Regions from separate parts of the Homo sapiens genome. Here all the other regions are linked to region 1. Evidence: promoter capture Hi-C in human tissues and cell types (Jung and others, 2019). All regions are on one chromosome and are shown on one strand. Each heading gives the region's core, a stretch centred on a gene start or on the middle of the fragment in contact. The rest is flanking DNA. Distances are from core to core; before and after follow the strand shown. Region 1 holds the start of EEF2K (eukaryotic elongation factor 2 kinase). Region 2 overlaps ACSM3 (acyl-CoA synthetase medium chain family member 3). Region 3 holds the start of NDUFAB1 (NADH:ubiquinone oxidoreductase subunit AB1). Region 4 overlaps DCUN1D3 (defective in cullin neddylation 1 domain containing 3). Region 5 overlaps DCUN1D3 (defective in cullin neddylation 1 domain containing 3). Region 6 overlaps LDAF1 (lipid droplet assembly factor 1).

What was found. Contacts are between HindIII fragments. The study calls those that stand out against the background at their distance.
Region 2: a contact is called between a fragment that was not itself captured here and the fragment with the promoter of EEF2K in region 1, in 1 of the 25 tissues and cell types used here (lymphoblastoid cells).
Region 3: the fragment with the promoter of NDUFAB1 here is called in contact with the fragment with the promoter of EEF2K in region 1 in 1 of the 25 tissues and cell types used here (IMR-90 fibroblasts).
Region 4: a fragment that was not itself captured here is called in contact with the fragment with the promoter of EEF2K in region 1 in 1 of the 25 tissues and cell types used here (lymphoblastoid cells).
Region 5: a contact is called between a fragment that was not itself captured here and the fragment with the promoter of EEF2K in region 1, in 1 of the 25 tissues and cell types used here (spleen).
Region 6: a contact is called between a fragment that was not itself captured here and the fragment with the promoter of EEF2K in region 1, in 1 of the 25 tissues and cell types used here (mesendoderm cells).

Annotation. Positions count from the first base shown.
Region 1 is chr16:22,204,797-22,207,797 of GRCh38, forward strand. EEF2K (eukaryotic elongation factor 2 kinase) reads left to right here and starts at 1,482. Exons shown (of 18, transcript NM_013302.5): 1 at 1,482-1,883. RefSeq lists silencers at 1,253-1,552, 1,713-1,982. The HindIII fragment of the contact is 13,900 bases long and covers 1-3,001 here.
Region 2 is chr16:20,792,982-20,795,982 of GRCh38, forward strand. All of the region lies in intron 12 of ACSM3 (acyl-CoA synthetase medium chain family member 3), which reads left to right. It also overlaps a transcript of ERI2 not described here. Among named protein-coding and RNA genes, the nearest start is that of ERI2, 12 kb to the right of the region's middle. The HindIII fragment of the contact is 5,019 bases long and covers 1-3,001 here.
Region 3 is chr16:23,594,736-23,597,736 of GRCh38, forward strand. NDUFAB1 (NADH:ubiquinone oxidoreductase subunit AB1) reads right to left here and starts at 1,581. Exons shown (of 5, transcript NM_005003.3): 1 at 1,388-1,581. The coding sequence starts at 1,555. RefSeq lists a silencer at 1,239-1,328. The HindIII fragment of the contact is 9,015 bases long and covers 1-2,850 here.
Region 4 is chr16:20,854,856-20,857,856 of GRCh38, forward strand. It overlaps DCUN1D3 (defective in cullin neddylation 1 domain containing 3), which reads right to left. Exons shown (of 3, transcript NM_173475.4): 3 at 70-3,001. Among named protein-coding and RNA genes, the nearest start is that of DCUN1D3, 44 kb to the right of the region's middle. The HindIII fragment of the contact is 5,933 bases long and covers 1-3,001 here.
Region 5 is chr16:20,874,617-20,877,617 of GRCh38, forward strand. All of the region lies in intron 1 of DCUN1D3 (defective in cullin neddylation 1 domain containing 3), which reads right to left. Among named protein-coding and RNA genes, the nearest start is that of DCUN1D3, 24 kb to the right of the region's middle. RefSeq lists an enhancer at 97-316 and a silencer at 963-1,042. The HindIII fragment of the contact is 5,197 bases long and covers 1-3,001 here.
Region 6 is chr16:21,175,174-21,178,174 of GRCh38, forward strand. All of the region lies in intron 4 of LDAF1 (lipid droplet assembly factor 1), which reads left to right. Among named protein-coding and RNA genes, the nearest start is that of LDAF1, 18 kb to the left of the region's middle. The HindIII fragment of the contact is 5,741 bases long and covers 1-3,001 here.

The DNA of each region.
Region 1 (3,001 bases), core at 232-2,731:
TTGGAGCCAGGGGAGTGGGGAGGGCTATTTTCCTGAACTGAAATAGGGTGAACTGGTTCCCTGAAGACTAACCAAGACGCTAATGCAAAGAAGGACACTCCTGCTGGGCAGACAAAAATGACAGAGGCTCAGAGAAGTAAAATAACTTGCCCAAGGGCCATAGAGCTTTAAGCAGTAGCGTCTTTTTTTTTTTTCCAATCTTGCTTTGGGCTTGGACAGACTAGTTCAGCATCTTTGATCTTCCCTTCCTGCCTGACGGCCCCAGGGTCAGAATTCCAGGTGCAATTTTGTCTTGCCAAAAGCTGGAGTTTACTCTCTTTGGGGTTTATAAATAAGGAAAAAAGTTCTTTGGAGAGCCTGAACTTTGAAATCAGAGAAGTCTGGATTTACTGCTGGCTCTGCCTTTTCTAGCTGCCTCACCTGGGGCATGTCATTATCTCTATAAGCCTCAGTTTTGTTCTTTTTTCTTTTTTATTTTTTTGTTTTTGTTTTTTTGCGACGGAGTCTCATTCCTTCACCCAGGCTGGAGTGTAGTGGCGCGATCTCGGCTCACTGCAACCTCTGCCTCCAGGGTTCAAGCGATTCTCGTGCCTCAGCCTCCAGAGTAGCTGGGACTACAGGCGCGCCCGGCTGCTTTTTTGTATTTTTACTAAAGACAGGGTTTTACCGTTTTGGCCAGGCTGGTCTCGAACTCCTGACCTCAGGTGATCTGCCGGCCTCGGCCTCCCAAAGTGCTGGGAAGATGGAATGAGAGAAATCCCTCAAAACATGTCATTGTTACTACTTTTCTATCTAGAATGTGTGAAATTTCTAAAATTTCACTAACAAAGTATCTGGAAGGACCTAATATTAAAGTGTTCACAGTAGCTATTAGTTTTAATTCGTTTTCTTTTTTATACCTTAGCCACTCTACCACTCATGCCACAGGTATTTATTAAGCATCTACTGTGTGCCACCCAGGCCCTGTGTCAAGAGTTAGGAATAACTAAAGGAGATACTAATTTTAAAACTACACAAATAATTGCAATCGTCATACGTGCCTGTTTTTACAAAGCAGAAATCAGGAAAAACAAAGTATTTCCGATAAAAAATATTTTAAGGTTATGGATAGAGATACATACAAACAAGCGATGGGCTTGGATCACTAATGATTTTGGAAAGGACAGGAATACAGGAACTAAGCGAGAAGCAGGCGAGAATGGCGAGGCGCGGCGGGAGAGGACGGAAGTTGGTCACTCCCTCGAATTGCCCCCTCGCTGCCGGATGCTAGGCCAGCCTTGAGCAGGAGAACCGGACACTGTGTACTCAGCAGGGGGAGCCAAGACTTAGCGCTAACCATTGCACCTGGGGCTGGGAGCCAGCGCCGGAGCCAGGAGGCCCGCTAGGCGGCTGCAGGCGCTGTGATGGCCACCTGGGGGCGGCCACGTGAGCGCCACGCCGTGCGCCCGCCAGGCCAGCCCCGCCCCTGCCCGCCCGCTTCTGCTCAACCTAGACCAGCCCCAGCTTCAGCCTCAGCTCCCCTCCTTCCTGGATCGAGCGCCCGCACTCCCGGCCCTGCAGCCACCCGAGTCCCGCTCGCTGTCGCCTGCACGCGAGTCCCCCCTGGCACGCGCTCCCACATCCCGGGATCGTCCCAACGGCCCCTGCGCCCTTCCTGGGATCACTCCGACTGCCCCGCGCGCCCTGGGATCGGTCCATCTACCCCGCGTGGCCCCAGCTGCTTGCCCGGAGCGCCAGCTAGCGCTCCCCGCTCTCCGCTCCCCGGCACTCTCGGGGGGCCCGCCCGCCCTGCACCCTGGAGCTCCGGGCCGCGAGCCTCTGCCAACTCCTCTGGACCCTCGCGGCCGTGGGCAGCGGCTGCCGCGCCTGTCTGCCCGAGGGAGGTAGGTGTGGACCGCGGCCGGCAAGGCTGTGGGGGGCTGGGAGCCCGCGCTGCAGGCCTGTGCGCCCGGGTGCAGCTGGCGTCTGGAGCGTGCTGGGTCTGGGCTTGGGAATGGGGCCGGAGAAGGCATGGAAGGAGAGTGTGGGGGCGCTTCTCCTCTGGTTGTTAAACTCTCTGGGGCTAAGTGCTTGCTTTGGAGAAATGGGGAAGTTGTGCGGATTAAAGGCGATGTGGATATGGAAAGCAATTGGCAAGCAATGGGCGGTGATCTGGCTGCAAGTGACAGAGAGTTTGGGGGCCTCCCCCCTCGGGGCCCCTAGAGTGTGGGCGCATCGCTGCCTTCCTGTCCCCTGCAGGGCTCAGAGCCGCATCCCCCACCTTTCCCCTGAACTAGAGGCCTGCGTCAGCCCGAATTCCCGGAACCTCCAGGACTGTATAGACGCGCCCTTGCTGCATTGTTGGCTGCGGGAGTTTGTTGGCAGGCGCTGCTGACATGTGTGCCAAGGGGCTGGGCATTAATAAGCCGGTGGCCGCGCGGGGGTGGGGGCCTCCCGGGTAAGCCCCGGCCTAGATCCTTTTGCGCGCGCCTGGGGGATTTCGGGGAACCAGCCCAGCTGCGCCCTGAGTGTGACAGATGGGCCGCATGGGGAAGTGAGATCTGCCCAGGGGGACGGTCCCAGGGAGCCCGACCTCTGGGACCTCGGTGGTGGGTGCTTCTTCAGCCAGGAAAGCAGGAAACACTAGGGCTGGAGTCCTGGGTTGGAATTCTAGCTCATTTATGCTCTCTGGCCCTCGGTTTTCTCATCGGTAAAATGGGTACAGTATTAGTATCTACCACTTAGTATCCTTGGAAAGAGTAGATGAGTATGTATATGTCAGGTGCTTGGAACAGTGCCTGGCACACAGTGTCATAGTCTATGGCCCCGGGAGACATCTGATGGCCAAGAGCCCTGTGGTTGAGGGCCCTGGACAGGCTGTGAAGTCACAGCGAATTGAGTCACGTAGTCTATCCTAATGTTTTTAGCGAGGAGGAAACCGAGGGTCAGAGTGATCCCCAGGCCCACAGAAGCTCCCTAAGAGGAAGCCAGTCACATAAACAGATTCTAAAAAGCGAGATGG
Region 2 (3,001 bases), core at 154-2,653, 1.4 Mb before region 1:
GTATTTCTTCAAGCCATATCCCTTCTAACACTGAATCCAAGTTTTGAAGATGACACTGATGTCAATACAAATCCAGAACTTTCTGTACCATGTATTCAAGCTCCTTATCTCAAATCCTAGGTATAGGGCTTCAAGCACAGGGCACAGGGCAGAGTTAGAAGGTATCCAATCTCAGGGGATGAAATAGGTCCTGAAGTTTAAGGCAGGCCAGGCACAGTGGCTCACACCTGTAATCCTAGCACTTTGGGAGGCTGAGGTGGGTGGATCACCTGAGGTCAGGAGTTTGAGACAAGCCTGGTCAACATGGTGAAACCCTGTCTCCACTAAAAATACAAAAATTAGCCAGGCATGGTGGCACACGCCTGTAATCCCTGCTACTTGGGAATCTGAGGCAGAAGAATCACTTGGACCCGGGACGGGGAGGTTACAGTGAGCCAAGATCGTGCCACTGTGCTCCAGCCTGGCTAACAGAACAAGACTCCGCCTCAAAAAAATAAAAATAAAAATAAAAAAGTTTAAGGTAAAAATAGGAGATGTGCATGTTACAGTGGAGGGTGGATCTCCCCCCAGGACTGATTCCCCTAACTGATCTTTGATGCCAGAAGATACCCTGTTAAGTCCTCCTGGATGGCCCAAAGTTGTTCCAGATATAGCCCAGTGGCTGGGAATTGGTAGTTTGTCAAGTTGCTAGGATGACAATCGCTATTTACTGTGAAAGGGTATATTCCAGGCAGCTGAGGGCAGGGAAAACAGTCAGTGATTATTGGCTTGTCTCTTTGCTCTGAACATCATCGGCAAGGTTTCACGAGTCTTAGCTCTTCCTGTACTTCTCCCCTACCATTAGTCATCATCAGTTTTACCCACCTAGACAGGTGCTTACTAGGGACAGGATGGTAGCTGAGCCTTTCGGAACAGGGTTAGCTTGGCAGCCACCTGATATCCTAGCGTACAATATAGGAAAGGTCTATAAGTGGGTTGTGGTCCCCTCACAGCTCCGGGGGCTTGGCATAGGGCTTGGATTAGTCAGAGTGAGGGGGAAAGTGTGGCCAGTTTTCCAACAGTGGTAGGCTGCAGCATTTCCTAGTAGAAGATGTGAGTGGGTATCTCAAACGAGGTATCCATGAACAAAACGGCCATGTGCTCCATGCCTCCCTTTCTGCTGCCAGGCCTATTCTACCTGGGTTAGGTCCTTCTCTAGGCTGGGTCCTGCCAGGCAGGGTAATTGGGTAGCAAGTTCCAGAATTGATTAAAAAGAATATTTGGATTTGAAATACCATTTTAACATTGGAATGTGAAAGACTTGTGGAATATGTGTCTAGATCACTAGGTTCTTAAATTTTTGGGATCACATATCTCTTTGAGAATGTGAAGAAAACCATAGGCCACTGTTAAGACTTATGCAGTGATGGAAATGTTCTATATTTGCACCATCCAATGCGATAGCCATGCATGGCTATCAATCACTTGAAATGTGGCTAGTGTGACTGAGAGTATTTAATCTTATTTAATTTTAATTGATTTAAATTGAAATAGACACACGTGGCTAGCAGCTATCATATTGAATGGCACAGCCATAGACTTTTCTCAGAAAAATACAAGATTTTGCATAGAATTTCATAGAGATTTGAAGCCCACTTATGGATTCTGGGTTAAAAAATAAGACCCAAACTTCTTGTAATTCTAAGACTACAACTAAGAGCTAATGTTTTTGATGACTTACTATGTGCCAGGCATTATACATCTATGCTAATTCATTTAATCATCATAATCTCTTTTACAGAGAAGGAAACTGAGGCACAAAGAGATTACCTAACTTGTCCAACATTACACAACAAACTGTGACTTGAACCCAGCTGTTCTGACTTCAGAGTTCATACTCTTACCCATGTTAGGTTGTTCCTTGTTAATTTAACATTTTCTGCAGTAGTTTAAAAAGATAAAAGAGACTATCCAAGTTGTAGAAATCGTCAATATGTGAACCAGTATTGCAGTTTTTAAAATAATTTACCTTTGAATGACTCACTTACAACAAGCATAATTTTTTAATTTGTAAAAATGTTAATGCAGCAGAGCTAGCATAACTACAAATGCATTTTATAAAATGTCAAAAAGTGAATGGAACAAAATTATATCCATAGACACACACACACACAAGGGTTCACAACTGCCGCATGGCACATGTAAATTAAAAATGTTCAAGTGTTGTTGTTGTTTTTTTTCTTAGAGACAAAGTCTCACTATGTTGCCCAGTCTGCTCTCGAACTCCTGGGCTCAAGCAATCCTCCCACCTCGGCCTCCCAAATGTTGGCAGTACAGGCGTGACCCACTGTGCCTGGCCACAAGGGTTTTGGGTAAAGACAAAAATGGGTAATTGTTCATACAATGTAAAACTGCCCACTGGTGAACAGTTTTCAATATGTGAAAAAATTATAACTTCAAGTCTTTGTTTCTCACCAAATGGCTGTCCTGGTAATTTGTTGTTTCAAATAATTCCTTTTCAATGAAATCTTTACTCCCAGATCAAAGTGGATAGGAAATGTTGCCAGCTTATCTTTAAGCTGGACAAACGAATCCTTGAATTTAATAAGATTTCAGGCACCTAAGTGCAGGATACTTAATCATAAAAAAGCTTCAGGGGACTCTCCTGGAACTGTGCCTACAGGGAAGCATCATTCCATAGCCAGCTCCGGGCTGGTAATCTGGCGTTGGAGGTACATACTAGTTGATGCACCTAGACTCATGCCTCTAGGGAAGGCAGTAAATGGCAGTCCTGGTAGTGCCCTAGGAGAGAAAATGACAGGACTCCAAATTTACTTTTAAAGGGGGCTATGAGGGATGGCCTATCTTTCTGTCTTCTCCATTACAGGTCCAAAAACTAGGCAGAGTTTTCAAAAACATTTCTAGGAAGGATAAAATTTGGAGAAGAGGATTTGTAAGCATAAAGTAATAACATCTTTCTTGGCTTCTGCCAGTTAAAGGCCACCATGATTTCCACTCTTGT
Region 3 (3,001 bases), core at 331-2,830, 1.4 Mb after region 1:
CCTCGGCCTCCCAAAGTGCTGGGATTACAGGCGTGAGCCACCACGCCTGGCCAGACACACTTATTTTTCACACTAACATGCAGTCAAGGTTGAAACCACTATTACCTGAAGTCTATGACTTTGAAAAGGGGTTTCATAACTTGACCTTGGGAGTCTATCCTACCTTAAGACGGTTATTTTTATTCCCAACTGCACTTCAGAGTCATCTGGAGAACTTAGAAAACAACAAAAAAAAGGCAGGGCGCGGTGGTTCACGCCTGTAATCCCAGCACTTTGGGAGGCCGAGGCGGGTGGATTGCGAGGTCGGGAGTTCAAGACCAACCTGGCCAATATGATGAAACCCCGTCTCCACTAAAAATACAAAACTTAGCCGGGCATGGTGGCGGGCGCCTGTAGTCCCAAATACTCGGGGGGGCTGAGGGAGGAGAATTGCTTGAACCTGAGAGGCGGAGGTTGCCGTTAGCCGGAGGTTGCAGTGAGCTGAGATCACGCCACTGCATTACAGCCTGGGTGACAGAGCGAGACTCTGTCTCAAAAACAACAACAACAACACCGAAATCACTGCCTCCCGGCGTTTCAGCCTCACGCAGATTTCATCAGCTCAAGCTATATACTACAGGTACAGTCGTTCCTTGGTATTTGCGCAGATTGGTTCCAGGACCCCCGACTATACCCAAATCCCCGCACACTCACGTCCCGCAGTCAGCCTTGCAGAATCCGCTTATAGGAAGAGCCTGCCCTCCTTATACGCGGGGCGGCACATCCCGTAAATACTGGTCGCGTTTGGTTGAAAAAAAATCCGCATATAAGTGGACCCGCGCAATTCAAATCCTTATTGGTCAAAGGTCACTTGGCTTGTTTCCTAGAATTACTTCCAGGAGTCCTGGACACAGGCAGAAGGTGCTGCAGGGAAGAGTAAGGACAGAACTGCAGAGAGAAAACCGCTCTGGAGAAGGCTGTAGGCCAGTGTGGCTGCCTCTTTGCATGCTGCTTTCACTACAATACGGTGACCGCTATTTTGAGACCGTACGAGGTGCTCTAGCCGCATTAACTCATCTAATCCTCATTGCTACTCCGCAAGGTAGAGACCAGGATCCCAATTTTGCAGGTGAGTGTGAGCCAGGCTAGGAGACTTGTCCAAAGTTTCGGTAAGCGGCAGCCCAGCAGTGCTGGACTCGAGTCAGTGCTCTTGCTCGTTATTACGAGGTCACCCGGCCTCCCGTCAGGGGTCAACTAAACACCTTTAGGCAGCGGGGCTGCGGAGCGAGCCGGCTGCCCCCCGGGTCACCCCTGCCTGCAGCTGGCGCGCCCCGGATGCCCGGCCCCCACCCCCACCGGGCCCAATCCCTGACCCTTGCCAAGCGGCAGCAAAGTCACCACGAGTCACCTGCGCGAGCACTAAGGCCGGCTGCAAAGTCCCGAGCCTCGTCTGGGTCCCCGCGGAGCAGAGAGCGGTGCTGAGAGGCCGGGCCACGGCCAGCATCCGGACCCGGGGCAGCGGCGCAAAGGCCGCGGGCAGGCGGCTGACATAGGCTGAAAGGACACGAGACGCCATGGCTACGCCAACCCAGGATGCACTGCGCCGCCGCCTCCGGACCAGGGTTCCTTTCCGGCGGCGCGCAGGCGACGCACACGGCAGCGCTGTCGGGCACCGCCGGCGGTGGCGGCCCCTGGCGGCTCCTGGAGGCACTGCGCCCTCGGAGCCCATCCAGGTTCGGGGACGAACAACTGCTTGGTGTCACAACTAAACTGTGCAGACGTCGCCGTCTTTCCCTAAACGACACGGCACGAGAAACCTACTTTCATTTTTTATCTGAAAGTTCTGAAATACATCTGTTTAAACGTTTGGGGCCGGGTGCGGTGGCTGACGCCTTTAATCCTAGCACTTTGGGAGGCCAAGGTGGCAGGACTGTTTGAGCTCAGGAGTTCAAGACCAACCTGGCCAACACGGCAAGACTCCGTCTCTATTACAAAAAAGATTAAAAGAAAAAAAGGACAAAGTTTTGATTCCACAATTCTTCCACAAGTATTAACATTTATTGAATAGGTAAAAAAATATATATAATAATGTGAAAAAATAATCAATTTCAATACCTAAGACTAATAAATGTGAGAATTACGATTAAAACAATATACATGTTTTAAAACTTGACAGTGTATAATATAGCTGTCAGGTCCACGACTATGCCAACTGTCATGCCCACAGCCAGGTTCCAGCCCATATCGAGGTCTGAGGGGAGTGGGTGGATGAACAGATAGCTGAAAGAACACTCAGGGGACGGTAGGCAGGTGAAAGATGATTTTATTCAGCAGCAGCTCTCATCAGCAGCTTACTTACACTAGTTCTCTCACACTGTCTGCCTTGTCTCAGCTGCTTAGTCCCATGGCTCCCCCACACAACTGCGAGGCTGGCTCTCCCTTGCCTTCAGGGTCAGCAGCTTAACTCTCTCTCAGCTGTGATCTGGCTCCCCCTGTCTGTCTGCAAAGACTGACAGCTCTGGCTCTCTCTTTCTCTGGGCACGAACGCCTGTACAGTATCAGCAGGGCAATTATACCTTTTACAGAAAATAGTGGCTTAGAGCCAAGTGATGACCTTCCCATGTTATGCCTACATGGCTGTGATAACAAGTGGAGTTATACGCCTCTGTCTAAACTTGCTGAGTCACGCAGGATGTAAACATCTTACCTTGGCCTATCCTTGACCAAAGCACAGCCATGTTCCTTACAATAGCTAACAAAAATAGGTAAGCGAGGGAGGAGTTTAAGAAGGCTAATTCCTATTTCTAAGCAGGGAGCTAAAGGATATTGACTGAAATGGAAACACACGGGATAATGACTCCAAATTCTGAAATCTGCCTGAATGAATGATCCAATAATGTCACCAGTTTTACCTCAATTTCTTTTTATTTTTGTTAAATCCAAGTAAAATAAAATGTAATGGTATGCTGCCAGGCGCGGTGGCTCATACCTGTAATCCCAGCACTTTGGGAGGCCAAGGTGG
Region 4 (3,001 bases), core at 502-3,001, 1.3 Mb before region 1:
AGCTCCCAGTGGGTAAATTTTGCCCCAGAATAAAGTCACTGTTTTTTTTTTTTTGTAGAAATATCAATATTCAAGTAAACAAATTTATTAAATCCAACAGCAGGTAACCTTCCAAATAAAAAACATTAAAGGAAAAAATGTAGACATCAAAGACAAAAATGTGTGTAACAAGTCAATAAAAATACTCAAGGGGCCATTTGGAGAGTGCAACAGTGCAGAAAATACAAACAAAAGTATTAACTTTTGTCAAGTTTGTACAACCTCAACAAACAGACACACTGGTCACAAACCAAGAGGGATCCACAAAGGTGGAGGGTCACATGAGCAGTGGACTCATCACCTCAGCGGCTTAAGGCAGGGTATATCTGTGGGACCAATTCATCCAAGCCCCATGTGCCTATTGCTTCACATTCCCCCTTTAAAACCTAGTCATATTCATTAGTGCAACAGGTAAGAGCAATTAAGCACAGACGGAGCTGGGGACCAGGGTCAGAGGGAAGACACTTCTCCCAGAGCAAATGTATGCATGTCAGGGGGATGAAAAACCCCAGCAGCTGCTGAATGGCTTCCTTTGGCAATATCCAAGATTTGTGTTGAAAGGAGCAGGGAGGTTGGATGGGTGGCGGAAGTAGGTATTTATGAGATAGGCTGGGTTTCCAAGAAGAGAAGAATAGGGAGGACATGATGCCCAGCACCTGAATCAGAAGCAGAACCCAATGGTTATGCAAAGCTATTTGAACTATTTTGGCTTCTGCAACCAGTGCTCAAGAATCTATTTCATCTTTCGAAAAGGGGGAAAACCCCTGCCGATCCTCACCAACATGCAGTCCCAGTCCAGTTTAAACTGGATATGCAATTACAGCTTACCAGGGGAATAAACTCTGAGGGGGATGGATGGTTCGGAACCTTCTTTATATGATCAGAAAACACACTGTGGAATAAGAGGAGGATCAATGTCGCATTTCCTCAATGAGTCCCAATTAACACAATTCAACAACCTTAATAGTCCTTTCAGTCGTTTAAACAAGATACTGCTGGAGTCCTCCAAGAAGACCTGTCATTTACCAAGATGTTCAAGTCCCCCAAGGAAGACCTTTGTCAGTTACCAAGATGCTCAAGTCATAGCTAACCAAACATGAGAGACAAGAAAAACAGCAGAGCAGTCAAGTAAAATGCAACAAAAACCTAGCAGCAGCTTTCTTCTACGCCTTAACCTTATAATTGCATAACTGAGTCTACACCTTTTGGGCTTTGCTGCACTGAAGACCTCATTTGGAATCTGGCAAACCAAACATTCTTAAATACATAGGTTGGTGTAAAAGTAATTGTGGTTTTTGCCATACTTAATGGCAATACATTAAGTATGGCAAAAACTTACTTTTGCACCAACCTAACAGATCTGTTTTGGTTTGTAAACTTTTAGACAAGTTCTTATCCCAGTAACTCCCCACCACTGTTTAATACAATTTGGCACAGTATATAGTACATGAGGCCATCGAGTGTAACTACTATGGGACTCCATTTTGGCACCAGCCCCTAGAGACCAGTACTGCTTCAAAGACTAATACTGTGTGGCTTAATCCTTTCTCCCTTTCCAAAAAGACTAGTTTGTGCTTTCCTTGGGGAAGTTTAATATTGAAAACACTGCCTTGTACATTTTCAATTGTTATTTTCCTGGGCCCAGGGGTTTGGTTAAAATTTAGATCTTCACCCAGCTCTAGATTCATCTTCCCTTATCAGAAGGGCAGACATGGTTTCCTGGACCCAACTCACACAGGTGGGCAGCACTTCAGCTGCTGAGACAACCAGCTGAAGCATAGCAAAGCCCCTTACAGGAGGTGGGGTTAAGAACGATACATTGAGATTTGGCAAAGATGGGGGAAAGAGCAATTCAATGAAGCAGCACGTCATCTCATACCATCTTTCCAATAAACTGCTAAAGAAACATCACAAAAGCTGACAAAGCCAGTTGTCAAAACTGAGTTATTTCTTATTTCCCAACACACTTGTTTGTTGTTGCCCTCAGATGTTGCCGATTTCCAAAGTGGCGTCCACATCCTGCCCCTCTCCACATCACCCTGATGTTCTGTTGCTAAGCAAGGAGTGTACTGGCTTATCTGAGGGGCATGCATTCAGCCTCTTACACAGACTTACTGCTCACTCATTAAGTGGCAAACCTATTTCTAGGTTGAAAGGAACAAGACTTTTCACTTCCCAGAAGTATAACTTCAAACCCTACACACACCTCACCTTGGATCCCTTTGCAGAAAAACTGCATTTCTTGTGGTCATGAAAGAGTCAAGCATTGGCCCAGAGCTACTGCAGAAGCTTGAAATCTTTGCTGAGCATCAAGTACTCAAACTTGAAAGGAACTTGTAAGTCCCTCCCTGACTGCTCCCTTTTCTGGCTTCTCATTTGCAAATGGATCAATATAACCAAAAAATAACTAAATGGCTTTTTTGGTGGGGGATGAGGAGGCTAAATAGTTAATTTAAAAAACAACAAAATACATCCACTCTAGTACATCTAATGCACGGAATGTCTTCTTAAAGGGTGGGGAAGGAACCTAGTTTCTCCAGAGTACTCAGGGTCCTGGGCTGCCTGCCTCTTTTGTGCAGCTTTCTCTGATACACTCTGATCTGGGATGGAAAGGGCCTTATCTGGCCAAGAGCAGCCTGGCTTTTCCCTCAGTCAACCACTACCCAATCCAGAACCGGGGAAAATGAGTTGCAAACTGGCTTAATGAAAAAGCAGTCTTTTTAAAACCTCAGTCTGGGTACCCAGCTACAACTGATCCCACAGAACCTGCTGGGACCCCTGGAGACTTATTCAAGAGTCTTATTTAGCTAGAACAGAAGCCAGGCATCTGGCCCAAGACCCCCTTCAGCTTTCTAGCAGTACTATACCGTGGGTGATCTTAAAGTTTCCCATTTGCCCCTCTGAAGGAGGAACTGTCAGGTTTAGGATTTAAAAAAAAAAACAAATTCCAAGTATGTTCCCT
Region 5 (3,001 bases), core at 212-2,711, 1.3 Mb before region 1:
AGCCCAAATCTAACCTGAACTTGGCTACCCTCTTGGTTTCAATTCCTATCACTGAGACAATTTCTCTTTGATTTTACATGCCGAAGAGCCTATTAAGAAAGTGTTTAAGTTTCAAAGACTGACAGGAAATGCTCATGTTTGCACATCTTTATTTGAATACGTTCTCTGCAGGTTGAAACTTGAGGCCCCAAGGTTTAGGCTTTGATTTTTTTTTTTAAGTTACTTATTTTCACAAATGCTCATGTAGCATGAGGCCCCAGAGTACATTAACATGTGCAAAGATAAGCAGGTAATTAAAAATGGAGCTCTATACCTGTTGGAAGGCACTGTGGTACTGCAAGCTTTGCAAAGTAAGACATCTGATGATTCGTTCCTGCCCACTTCCCACCCACATGACCTGCCAAAATTGCTGCCACCTAATGGCCACCACAATGCTGTCTATTAAAACCCTGCCCTAGCAGCTATGCCCTATTTTAAGAAACAACATAAAAAATTTATAAAATAAAGCAGCAGCACCATAAGTTCTTTCAGTCATCAATAAGTCTGAAGACTCAAAGACAACTATGGCCCCAGAATAAACTGCGTGCGCTCATGCACACACACACACACACACACACACACACACACACACACACACACAAATGTTGCATCCAACAATAGGGGGTCCATGAAATTACATGCAACTTTTCTGAATTGCGTTCAGTGTCTTGACTGTTCTGCAACCAACATTCAATTCTCTCACTCAAAAACCAGTTGCACAGATATTGCAGCTCCTTCAGCTGCTCCAGTATAGTCATGTGCCTTCCAGGAGGGAAAGTACATGCATTGGATGCAAAATGACTAGGTTTGTACAGCCCAGCTCTACCAACTCTCTAGCTCACACTTAACCATATTCCATCTCAGTCTTCTCAGTTGAAAACGGGAACTAAAACAAATCACTGTGAACTAAATGACTATATGCAGAAGAATAAAACTAGATCCCCTCTCTCACACTATATACAAAAATCAAATCAAAGTGGATTGAAGATTTAAATATAAGACATGAAACTATGAAACTACTAGAAGAAAACACTGGGGAAATGATCTAGGACACTGGTCTGGGCAAAGATTTTTTGTGTAAGACCTTAAAAGCACAGGCAACCAAAGCAAAAAGAGACAAATGGGGTTATATCAAGCTAAAAAGCTTCTACACAGCAAAGTAAACAATCAACAATGTGAAGAGACAATCCACAGAATGGGAAAAAAAATCTGCAAACTATCCATCTGACGAGGGATTAACAGCCAGAATATATAAGGAGCTCAAACAACTTAATAGCAAAATAATAATAATAATAATCTGATTTTTATTTTATTTATTTATTTTTTTTGAGACAGAGTCTCACTCTGTCACCCACGCTGGAGTGCAGTGGCATGATCTCGGCTCACTGCAACCAATCACCTCCGAGGTTCAAGTGATTCTCTTGCCTTAGCCTCTCGAGTAGCTGGGATTACAGGCGCATGCCACCAGGCCCAGCTCATTTTTGTATTTTCAGTAGAGACAGTGTTTCACCATGTTGGCCAGGCTGGTCTCAAACTCCTGACCTCAGGTGATCCGCCTGCCTCAGCCTCCCAAAGTGCTGGGATTACAGGCTCGAGCCACTGTGCCCGACTCTAATCTGATTTTTAAATGGGCAAAAGATCTGAATAGATGTTTCTCAAAAGGAGACATGAAAATAGCCAGCAGGTATACGAAAAAATGCTCAACATCACTAATCATCACAGAAATGTAAATAAAAGCCACAACGAAATATTATCTCACCCCAGTTAAAATGGTTATGAAAAAAAAAAAAAACAGAATAATGAATGGCAAGGATGTGGAAAAATGGGAACCCTCGTATACTGTTGGTGGAAATGTTAATGAGTATAGCCACTATGGAAAACAGTATAAAGGGCCCTCAAAAAACTGAAAATAGAACTACTGTATGATCCAGCAATTGCACTACTAGGTATATGTGCAAAGGAAAGAAAATCAATATACTGGAGAGATCTGCACTCCCATGTTTATTGTAGCATTATTCACAATAGCCAAAATATGGAATCCACCTGAGTGCCCATCCATGGATGAATGGATAAAGAAAATGTGGTACATATACACAATGGAATATTATTCAGCCATAAAAAAGTATGAAACCCTGTCATAGGCAACACGGTTGGAACTAGAGGTCATTACGTTAAGTGAAATAAACCAAGCACAGAAAGACAAATAGCACATGTTCTCACTCATGTGTGAGCTAAAAAAGTGGATCTCAGGAAGAGAGAGACAGTTATCTTCTCTAGGTAGTTACCAGAGGCAGGGAAGGGGAGCGGGAGGGGAGATGAAAAGAAGTGGGTTAGTGGGTACAAACAGAAGTAAGACCTAGCGTTGGAAAAATCAGTAGGGTGACTCCAGTCAACAATAATCTAATGTACATTTCAAAATAGGTGGAAGAGAATAATTTAAATGATCCCGGCATAAAGAAAAGATAAATATTTAAGGTGATATAATATCCCAATTACCCTGATTTGATTTTTACACATAATGTGAATGTATCATATTATCACATGTCTCAAAACTACATATATTATTTATCAATTAACAAAAAAATGGGACTGAGTTCTGCGATGAAAAAAAAAAGGTCACGGTGAAGAATAAATGGCTGCTTCATATGAGATGGGTCTCAGTTCACGTGCTGACATGTGTTCCATGTTCAACCAATCCAAATGCCACTTCCCTCTAATTCAGCACAACGCTGTTTTACTTCTTCACGGCACTTACAACTCTGTGAAATTCTAATTTGCTGACTTATTTATTGCCTGCTCCCTCTAATAGCAGGCATTTTACCTGCCTTATTCGCCACTTTACCCTGTGCACCTAGGCTATGTGGCACATGGCACATTGATAAGTATCTGTAGAAGGAATAATAGTCACTGATACTGAGCACATGCTCTGTACAAGGCTTTATTGCTTTAAATATATTAACTC
Region 6 (3,001 bases), core at 404-2,903, 1.0 Mb before region 1:
AAGTCCCAAGTTCATCATACTTCATTTAAGCTCCTGCTAAATTGATGATAGTGCTACTGAGCACTTGCTCTGTGCCAGGGACTCTCTTAAACACTTTCCAGGCCTTATGTCATGTAATCCTTAACAATTTAGCCCCTTTCTATTATAAGGAAAATTAAGCCAAGTCCCTTAAGCTGAGAGTAGCACAGAAGGGACTTAATTCCAGGTGAGTTAATTCCAAAGCCCTCTTAATCAAGATACAAAGTGACTCTCTAAAACAGGAGTTGGCAATTTCTGGAAAGGGCCAGACAGGAAGTATTTAGTAAGTAATATAGTCTCTACTGGAATTTCTGGAAAGGGCCAGATAGTAAGTATTTAGTAAATAATATAGTCTCTACTGCAGTTAGTCAACTCTGTTGCCGTAGCATGAAGGCAGCACAGACCAGGAAGTAAATGCATGGGCATGGCTGTGTTCCAGTAAAACTTTATTTACAAAGACAGGCAGCTTGCTGGATTTGGCCAACCATTGCTCTATAAGAACTGATATCCTGAGTTTTGTTTTTCTACAAAACAGCCCTTGAACTCCTTACCAAAAGTTTATCCTGTTATTATTCCTATGTTGAAAAATAAAGGGTGAAGTGGGTATAATATAAAATTGCTCAAGGATGGCTCTTATAGGATTGCTTAATTGAATCAACCCTGGAGTCATAATCACCTTTTCAAAAATCGCTTTGATCACTCTTAGTCTTTTGTTTGTTCATTTGTATTTTACTTATAAAATGGGGTCTTGCTGTGTTGCCCAGGCCATTCTCAAACTCCTGGCTTCAAGCAATCCTCCCCCGTTGGCCTCTCAATGAACTGGAATTATAGGCGTAAGGCACTAACTCACTCCCAGTCTTAAAAGATGTAAAAGGAGAAATATTGGCCTATTTTGCATATTGAGGGTGATGCTTCTGAAATAAAATTCCTCCCTGCCTCTGAACGCTGCTGTAACAGGGTGAGTTCTTAAAGATTATACCACAGGAAGTAGCAGAATCTGACTCCCTACTTATCAATGAAGAAATTGAAAAACAAATCCAGGATTTGTACTTGATCTCCTTATCTTCCCCTATTGCTGCCAACCAATTGTTTCCACGTGGGCAGAGGTTCTTAAGCTTTTTGTTCTCAAGTCCCATTTTACCTTCTTAAAAATTATTGAGGCATCTGAAGAGATGTTATTTATGTGGTTAATTGTATTAATAGCACTTTGGGAGGCCAAGGAGGGAAGATCACTTGAGGCCAGGGGTTTAAGACCAACCTAGGCAACATGGCAAGACCACATCTCTACAAAAAATACAAAAATTAGCCAACTGTGGTGGTGCGTGCCTGTAGTCCCAGCTACTCAGGAGGCTGAGATGGGAGGATCATTTGGGCCCAGGAGTTCAAGGCTGCAGTGAGCTGTGATCACACCATTGCACTCCAGCCTGGGCAACAGAGCAAGACCCTGTCTCAAAAAACAAATGAAATGAGCTGAAATATAAAATAAATAACTAACATGACATAAAACTATATACAATAAAATAAATTAAAATAAACATAACATAAATTACATTAAATCAAATTAAATATTAGCTGGTGCATGCTTGTGGTCCCAGCTACTCAAGAGGCTGAGGAGGGAGGATGGCCTGAGCCTGGGAGGTTGGGGGTGCAGTGAGCTATGATTGTACCACTGCACTCCAGCCTGGGTGACAGAGCTAGACTCTGTCTGGAAAAAAAAAAAAAAAGAATATTAATAATTATTTCTTTTTAAAAAATTTTCTTCCTCATTGTTTCTTGTTCTGAAATAATTATTCTATGAGAAATCATAGCATAAATTTTAAAAATATCTATTCATTTAAAAGGAACAATATTACCTGTTGATATAAATAACAAATTTTAATGAAAAGTAACTATATTTTCCAAAACAAAATGAAATTTGTGAGTGGTATTATTTTACATTTTACAGATCTCTTTCATATCTGCCTTAACAGTTGTCAGCCGGCTTCTCGTTTGTGTGGCTGCATTCATTCTGTTGTGCTATGTTGTCCTGTTTGGAGTATTTGAAGAAGACCTAGCATCACTAACATGCGGTTGGGAGAGGGAGGCAAAGCTTTTTTAAACGATTGTGGATATTCTATGATAGTCCACCAAAACTCCGTAAGTGATAGTTTCTTAAAGGTTAGCTGAAATGTGAAATTTTTCTACTCTATTTTATTGAAATCTTCAGGTCTGTGTCACACTTTAAATTGATCTTTATCATGCATGATTTTCTAACTTTACCCATTGGTCAATGGGAGAATATCAATTCATTGAGTCATGCAGATCTTCCAAATATATTTTGAAAAATTGCACTGTTCCCTTGTGAGAGAATGTGAGTGAAAAAGGCATATAATAGGTCATGTTATTGTGAACATGGTTTTCATCTGAGAACCCTTGCATTAGCGAATTCTTTTTTTTTTTTTTTTTTTTGAGACGAGTCTCACTCTCACCCAGGCTGGAGTGCAGTGGCTTGATCTTGGTTCACACAACCTCTCCCTTCTGGGTTCAAGCAGTTCTTCTGTCTCAGCCTCCCGAGTAGCTGGGATTATAGGTGTGCACCACCATGCATGGCTAATTTTTGTGTTTTTAGTAGAGGTGGGGTTTCACCATGTTGGCCAGGCTGGTCTTGAACTCCTGAGCTCAAGTGATCCACCCACCTCAGCCTCCCAAGATGCTGGGATTATAGGTGTAAGCCACTGTACCCAGCCTGCATTAGTGAATTCTTTATAACTCAAAAAAAGATAACTCCCTCATTAAATGATCGAAAGCATGGAATGGGGGGAAGAGGAGCTATATAATTTATTTCATGATTTAATGGAATTTTGGCCCTAAAACATAAAAGATAATACAGCTTAAATTTTTAAAAAAGAAAAGAAAAAGGAAACAAAACTGTAAGTTTCCCTTACATATGAAACCCAACTAAACAATATTTAGATCAAATACACTGACCTGCCTCCTATGTAGA